Linked DNA regions of Homo sapiens: region 1 is linked to region 2. Evidence: promoter capture Hi-C in human tissues and cell types (Jung and others, 2019). All regions are on one chromosome and are shown on one strand. The core of a region is centred on a gene start or on the middle of the fragment in contact, and the rest is flanking DNA. Distances in the headings are between cores, read along the strand shown.

Region 1 (4,040 bases), core at 300-2,799, 160 kb after region 2:
GGGAGGCCAAGGCAGGAAGATTACTTGAGGCCAGGAATTTGAGACCAGCCTGAGCAACATAGTGAGACCCTGTCTCGAAAAAAAAGTTTTAAATATTAGCTGGGTGTGGTGGCACATATCTGTAATCCCAGCTACTCAGAAGGCTGAGGTGAGAAGATGACTTGAGCCCAGGAGTTTGAGGTTACAACGTACTATGATTGCACCACCGCACTCCTGCCTGGGTGATAAAGTGGTATCTTGTCTAAAAAAAAAAAAAAAAAATCATGGTATTGAAAGGTATAAAGAGGAAAATGTGAATTATTATTATTCTACTCCTAAGGTAAATATTTAACCTTTTATAGTGAAAATTTTTCTGACACTAAAAATTTTTTTAAAAACATGAGTTTTAACAATAGCAGTCATCTTAAGAAATCATTATTGAGGTGACTACAGCTAGCAAAGAAATTTTTTTTCCCCCAGCTGAAATCTTGGGTACCTTTATACTTTGGTATAAACATGTACACATAGTAGCAGAGAATAATTGTGATGCACTAAGCTGGCAGGTCTGTGGATTTCAGCTCCAAACACAAATATGTAACACTGAGCCTATATTGAAATATGGATTAAGAGGCTCTAACTCACTTTTGTAAAATAAAATGATAGGAGCCACATTTGTGTTTAATTATAGCATGAGAAACCTGAGAATCAAAAGAAATAAGTAAGTTCCATCACACAACAGGATAGGAAAAATAGAAAGTCTACCTCACACTGCTGCATTTGTCTGTAACTTGGCCTACTTTATGAAACTCAAAAGCGAATTAAGCCGGGCGCGGTGGCTCACGCCTGTAATCCCAAGCACTTTGAGAGGCTGAGGCGGGCGGATCACGAGGTCAGGAGATCGAGACCATCCTGGCTAACACGGTGAAACCCCGTCTCTACTAAAAACACAAAAAATTAGCCGGGCGAGGTGGCGGGCGCCTGTAGTCCCAGCTACTTGGGAGGCTGAGGCAGGAGAATGGCGTGAACCTGGGAGGCGGAGCCTGCAGTGAGCGGAGATCGCGCCACTGCACTCCAGCCTGGGCGACAGCGAGACTCTGTCTCAACAAAAGAAAAAAAAAAAAAAAGCGAATTAAAACTACATTTTAAAAGCCTGGTTCTCATCACAGTTTTTGGCTGTTAGGGATAGGACTGGTGCAGGCAACATTGCTCCAGCTGACCAGGAAATGGTCTTCCAGAATCCCTCTGATTTAATGAGCCCTATCTCCTAGCTCTGCGTGGGTTTTGAGTAACCATGAAAAAAAGCTTTTAAGTGATCAAAATGATATATTGATTCTTTCTTTCTAATGCCTTGAATATTCTTTCAGCAAAGCTGCTTTAAAAATAATTTCTGATTTTCTATTTGGTTTTTATCAAGACATGGAAATGGATAGAGGTATTGTGAATTGATCCCAAGAGGAAGAAATTCCTGTAAAATGTAGATGCGTTGGTCACATGGGGGAGAAGCTCCTGTCTGACCTCTATTTCATATTATGAGCTCAAAACATGCTTTCTCATGGGCCATGTGACATCATGTTTGGTTGAGCAAAATGTTAATGTTGCAGTGATTGGGATCAGTGCTGTGCTTCCTGACCCACCTGCTGCATTGGTAAACCTGAAACCACCGCAGCAAATATGTTTATTTGCTTTTCCCTGAAATGTGCTGTTCCTTTTTACCTCCTACAGATAAAACTGACAGGCCCTTTTCCTGCTAGCCAAAAACAGTGAGGAGAACCAGGTGGAAGACACAGCTTTTAAAATGTAGTTTTAATTCACTTTGAGTCCCATAAAGTAGGCTGAGTTACAGACGAGCTGTGGGCTTCACCAAATCACTCCATGACCTCACTTTCCTTCTGGCAAACCTCTCCCAGTGCAATATGTTGATATCGTTGATGGAGTATGAGAAACAGCTTGCTGGAGAAGAGCCTGCCTGTGATCTCTTAAGGTTGCCAGACAACATCACTGTAGGCCATCTTCTCTCTTTTTCCTTATGCTTCAATTTCCCATGGCTTTTGTGTACTACAATAACGTCAGTAACCAACCTCACTGGAACCACTTGGCTTGTAGATAGTGAAAGCTCTGTTTACATTAGAGGTAGTTTCAGAATTGATGAAAGCCTGTGTTGACTTCTTAGTTTCTTATAGTGGATATTTTGATTGAAAACACTGGAATCTCCAATGTGATAATTGACCTTACTGTTGTGTACTGAGATCTCTATTTTAGATTCTCCCCAAATACCACCTTTTTTCTATTTTTAAAATTATTATTGCAAATTCAGTCAAATAATATGGTAGACAGAAATTTGGATGGGCTTCAGGAAAAGAGGTTTAATAGTGGATTTGCCCCTAACTAGCTGTACAGCCTCTTGCATATCATTTAATCTATCTTGACCTCATTGTCTTTGTATTGAGATTCTGTGGTCCAGTCATGGGAATTAAAATCACCATCCATAGAAAGCTGTGTCTCTCGTCTCTTTGTGATTCAACACTTCATCTTTTCTGCAGAGTAGAACACCTTGTAGGCAGGTTCATAATCTTCTCTGTACTTGGAAATCACCCGGAAAGCCCCCTTTCAAGTTTCTAATTGCCCAAGTTATTCTTTTTTTTTTTTTTTTTTTTTTTTTTTTTTTTTTTTTTTAGAGGGAGTCTCACTCTGTTCCCCAGGCTGGAGTGCAGTTGTGCGATCTGAGCTCACTGCAACCTCCGCCTCCTGGTTTCAAGCGATTCTAGTGCCTCAGCCTCCTGAGTAGCTGGAATTACAGGCGTGCACCACCACACCCGGCTAATTTTTGTATTTTTAGTAGAGACGGGGTTTCACCATGTTGGCCAGGCTGGTCTCAAACTCCTGACCTCAGATGATCCATCTGCGTTGGCCTCCCAAAGTGTGCCCAAGTAATTCTATAATGTAGCCAGGATGAGAACCACTGGTATCAGGTCTAGACCCAGGGACTCATTATTATAAAACATTCCCCTTTGACATACCTTTTCATCCTTGAGTCAGGACAATTTTACCTTTCAGAAAGTAGCTACAGTCCTTTTATAATTTACTCCTCACCAAAGGTAAAATACATCCATTTTCTCTGTGTGTGACTTCTGACTATTCTGCACTGATTCAATACCCCTTCGTTTTTTGCTTATTTTTTCATTCTCACCATTCAACCACACTTGACACTTGAATCACTTTTGTTGATTTAAAAGAACAACAACAACAAAAATACAGAGTAAGATCACTTGACTTTATTGTATTAGCCATTAAATCTCTTTCTGGAGCAATAGTTCTCTAAGTATGGTCCCAGGAGCAGCAATATCACTATCACCTGGAAACTTGTTAGAAAGGCAAATTCTCAGGCCCCTTTCTGGACCAGAAGCTCTGGAGATGGTTCCCAGCAGTCTGTTTTCACAAGACTTCTAGGTGATTCGACACACTATTGCTTGAGAGCTGTTCTAGAGAGATTTTATATTTTCAGATAGTTGGATTTTTAAAAATTTTTTTAGTGTGCTCAGATATTTTTGAAGTAATCGTTGTCTGAACTTACTTGGTCTAGAAATAGAAGAGATGTTCTATTTCTAAAGGGGATATTTCCCAATCCTACCCATCTTTTTATCCTTTAGAAGTTTTCATCTTCTTTTCTGCTTTTAGAAGACCTATCCATATCTCTCTTATTTTTACACTGAAAATTTAGTCTTACATTCTATTATCATGGAAACTTTAATAATCAATGCTATTTCAATGATGTATTATGATGTGATGTAACAATAGATGGGGCAGTGACTAATACAACATTAATTTCTACTTCTTCATTTGTTTATTTTTATTGGACCTTCAGATGACATTCTTCTTACTTTATGAAGGGGGCCAGCCCCTCCACACCTGTGGGTATTTCTCATCGGGTGGGACGAGAGACTGAGAAAAGAAATAAGACACAGAGACAAAGTATAGAGAAAGAACAGCGGGCCCAGGAGACCGGTGCTTAGCATACAGAGGACCTGCACCGGCACCGGTCCCCGGGTTTCCTCAGTATTTAT
Region 2 (4,321 bases), core at 492-2,991:
GTTTGGCAGTGAACCTGCCTTGCATCTGACAGCGAGCTCTAGGGTGCATTTATGCCCCCTTTTTGCAGATATCACTACGTAAGACCTCTGGGTTTAAGATCTGGCTTCAAGACATCTCTATTCATACTCAGTGGGGATCAACTTCACTGTGTAGTAGGAGGTGATCAGAAAAACCCAGTCTGTCTAAAATAACTTCCCCTTTTCCTAGATTTGCCAGCAGAACTGCTCTTTTGGATTTAAGACCTAATTGGAGGTCTTGTCTGTGGCAATTAAATGAATTCTTAAAATGTACCTGCTAGCTGAGGAGAGAGGTGAGATTAGTTCCTTCCCATTAACACCTTAACTCCCAGGTACACATTCACATGGATTAGTGTGTGATAATCTTGGTGTTGTAACAGTAGAGGCCCCAAAGACACTGAACAAAAACAGGGCATTTTAAAAACGTTTAAAAATATGAACTGTAAAGATGAACATAGCATTAGAGAAAGTTGAGAGAAAAAAGCACAATGTTCTTTGATTATTTTTATTAACTGTATTCTTTCAATGCTCACATTTTGCTTTTATAACCTGAAAAAATATCCTAAAACATGCTTTTTAAACCAATATTCCACATCTTGTGTAACTATTACCATTATTGTGTCCTTCCTTACAGTGTGTATATAAATATTTGTATATGGTTGGGATCAGTTTGTGATATATTTCCTTTTGCAACTTAACATTGCCAAGGCACTTAGCTGGTTCTCATACTAAGTTATTTAACTGTCTAATAACTTAAGTAGATGAACCTTAATTTATTTAGAATCCCGTATTGCAGAGTATCTTGGTCGTTTCTAACTTTTTAGTATAAATAGCTCGGTGGTGCACATTTCCACGCATAAACTGCCCCTCCTCCCTTCCTCCCATTCTGAATGACAGGGCTGGAGCGGGTGGGGGTCTCTGAAGGGTCCTGGGGATGTCTTTCGTCCAAGCTCATGCCCTTCCTAATTTTGCTTAGTCACTCCTTCATCCCACCCCCACACATACTCGACGTAGAAATGGCTGGGCATAAAGCCAACATCTGGTGACCAGACCAGGAAAGGGGCCAGGAGCTGGGGACCACCGGGTGAGAGGAGGTTGAGGGGTGCTAGCGAATCCCACCTACCCTCCACCCTGCACCGCAGCTCTGGGGGCGTCCTTGCCCAGGACTAGTTTCAGACCAGCCGGCGACTCGCAAGGCCAGGCTGCTTGGCCAGGCTGCTGACTTTTCCAAAACGCGAGGGGACAGTCCGAAGAGTTCCCGGACGGATTAGCCCAAAGAGCTGCGGGCGAGGGTCGGTTGAGGGAAGAAAATGTGTGCGCGACATGCGTCCGAAAGCTAGACTTCTGATCCTCGCTCCCCGCGGGGCTGGACCCGTGACCCTGAGCTAGTCGCCTGACTCGCCGAGCCTCAGTTTCCTCACCTGTGAAATGGGGATAATTGTGAAGATGAGGAGATAACTTGAGCACAGCACTCTGTGCAGCGCCAGGCACCGAGTAAGGGCTCCATAAACGCTAACCAACCCGTGACAGGGGAAAATTGAGGCTCAGGGCCATCCCGTCCAAGTGTTTTGCCGAGGCCCCAGGGCTTGGCTAGGGATGGACGCCGGGTGTGAACGGAGTCGCTCGCAGCCCAGCGGCCAGGAGCTCCGCGAGGATCGAGGGGACGAAACTCACCTTCTTGGCCCCCGGGCGTCCAGCAGGTGCCATGGTGCCGCGGCTCTGTGGGCGCCGGGTTCCCGGGCGCGCGGCCGTCTAGGAGCCCGCCCCCAGCCCGGGGGGAGGATCCGACCCCCGCCCCGCCGGCCCCGCGGCCTCAGGCTGCCCGCTGGCCTCGGAGCAGGCGCCTGCGCCCTCGGCCTCGGCCTAGTCATGCTCCGTCCCGGCGCGCAGCTGCTGCGGGGCCTCCTGCTGCGGAGCTGCCCGCTGCAGGGCTCCCCCGGGCGCCCGCGCTCTGTCTGCGGCCGGGAAGGGTGAGTGGGGCCCCGTCCTGCTCAGAGGCGACGGGGCGGCTGCGGGGGTGGGAGCCAGAGGCTGAGGCAGGCTCAGGGGTTAGGAGCGCTCTGGCCTCCAAGAAATAGGCCTTGATATATCTTCTCGAATTATCTTTTAATTATAAAGTGAAACAGTATCCAAAGGTTCCCCGTGTAAAGTCTCTCCTGCCCCAATCCCCTTGGCCAGTGAACAATTGTTAATAGTGTCTTCTGAATCTAACCAGAGACAGTCTACGCATAGGCAAACACAGGTCAGTATAGGTTTTCCTTTGGCTTTTTGACATCTTGCTTTTTACAATTATCAATATATCTTGGAGATTGTTCCATATCAGCACACACTGACTTGCCTTGTTCCTTTTAATGGCTGCATAGTTTTCCATCCTGTCAATATTCTACACTATCGTTAGTCTATTCATTAACATTTAAATGGTTTTTGGTTGTTTATTACTGCAAATAACGTGCATGTGAAAATTCTTAGGCATCTATCTTTGAGTACATATGGGAGTCGGTAGCAACAGTTTTTAAAGGTGAACTTGTTAGGGAAAAGGTTACGTGCATCTGAAAGATTGAAAGACAGCAACACATTCTCCAAGTGGGTGGCAAGAGTTTGCATGCGGCACACCAGTGTGTGTCTGTTTCCCACATCTTCCCTGGTTCCCAGAATAGCCCATTTTGTTATCTTTGCTAAATCTGATAGGTAAAAATGGCATGTCCTTGTTTTGATTGGTCTGTATTTAAATATGAGCAATGCTGAACATCTTTCGACTTCTTATATTTGTAGATTATTCCTGGTTGCCAGGAAAGGCTTGTTTATCAGCATCACTCAACATTATTATGAGTTGATTCGAATTTTATTTTATGTCCTATGACCTGAAATTCTGGAATCAGAAGACCTGCTTTTGAGTTCCATCTATCCATTCAACAAATATTTACTGGGTGTTGTGATGTGCTAGGTTTGTCTCCAGTACTGGGAATGCAGTAGCCACCAACTCACAGTTCCTGCGCCATCTGTTACACAGAATGTGACCTTACACTTCTGAGGTTCAGTTTCCTCATCTATAAAATGAGGATACTAATTTTGCTCTATATAACTCACAGGATTGCTGTGAATATTAAATAAGAGAATGCATGTGAAAGTGCTTTGTAAATTGTAAAGCAATGCAAAAATATTTATAATAATGATGTTTTTAATCCAGTGCAAAATAAAATGGAAATTTAACAAACAAACTGATTAGATAAATAAGATACAAATTTCAAGACTATCCAAAAAATTCATATTTTGGCTGAGTGTGGTGGCTCATGCCTGTAATCTCAGCACTTTGGGAAGCTGAGGTGGGCAGATTACTTGAGGCCAGGAGTTTGAGACCAGCCTGATCAACATGGTGAAACTCTGTCTCTAATAAAAATGCAAAAATTAACTGGGTGTCATGGTGTGCACCTGTAGTCCAAGCTGCTTGGGAGGCTGAGGCGGGAGAATCGCTTGAACCTGGGAGGCGGAGACTGCAGTGAGAACCGAGATTGCACCACTGCACTCCAGCCTGGGCGACAGGGATTCCATCTCACAAACAAAAACAAAAACACCCAAAAGTTGAGTTATTTCAATTGCATATTCTTTATATACCCAATTTCAAACTATCAAAAAATGTTTTATTTTGGAAAGCAGTTGAACAAGCATACAGTTTGTGCTTATCATTTCTAATACAGAAGATAACTGACCTGGGTTTTTTGCATGGCTCCTAAGTTTTATTTCAAATACTCTTATAAACATCCTCGACTACATTCAGAAGGATTTTAAGATAGTTATCCACATAATCAAAAACACTATACCTAGTCTGAAACCTATTATGGCATGCTGGGCCGAGGAAATACTATATATTTGATAATGCTTTATCATATGTTGCCAAACAGAACCTTCACAGCTCCGTTTTGCAAATGAGAAAACTTTGAGACCCTTGTGTAAATTTCTCTAAAATAGCTGTTCAGTTGGATTGGGGACTCAAACCCAGGTTTCCTGATCTTAAGTTCTCTTTTGTTGTTGTTGTTTCAACTGACCACTGTCCTGAAAGAAATAATTCTTTCTTTTGAACACACAAAAAAGAACCTTTAAGATTATTATTTTTGTCACCACTATAATGGTTTCAACTAAAGTACAAGATATGCCCAGTCTGTTTAAAAATGGATTTCCGTCCAAAGTAGTTGGGTCATATGTACATTATTTTTTTCTCACACAGCATACAAAGAGACATTAATAGTCATCTAAAAACCGGTGAAACAAAACTGCTGAAACATGTTGTGGCACCAGGAAATAAGGA

What was found. Contacts are between HindIII fragments. The study calls those that stand out against the background at their distance.
Region 1: a contact is called between a fragment that was not itself captured here and the fragment with the promoter of BHMT2 in region 2, in 2 of the 25 tissues and cell types used here (mesendoderm cells and thymus).

Annotation. Positions count from the first base shown.
Region 1 is chr5:78,910,185-78,914,224 of GRCh38, reverse strand. The region is part of intron 4 of ARSB (arylsulfatase B); the gene reads left to right. Among named protein-coding and RNA genes, the nearest start is that of ARSB, 73 kb to the left of the region's middle. The HindIII fragment of the contact is 5,848 bases long and covers 1-4,040 here.
Region 2 is chr5:79,067,187-79,071,507 of GRCh38, reverse strand. BHMT2 (betaine--homocysteine S-methyltransferase 2) reads right to left here and starts at 1,741. Exons shown (of 8, transcript NM_017614.5): 1 at 1,693-1,741. The coding sequence starts at 1,725. DMGDH (dimethylglycine dehydrogenase) reads left to right here and starts at 1,834. Exons shown (of 16, transcript NM_013391.3): 1 at 1,834-1,988. The coding sequence starts at 1,888. The HindIII fragment of the contact is 19,729 bases long and covers 1-4,321 here.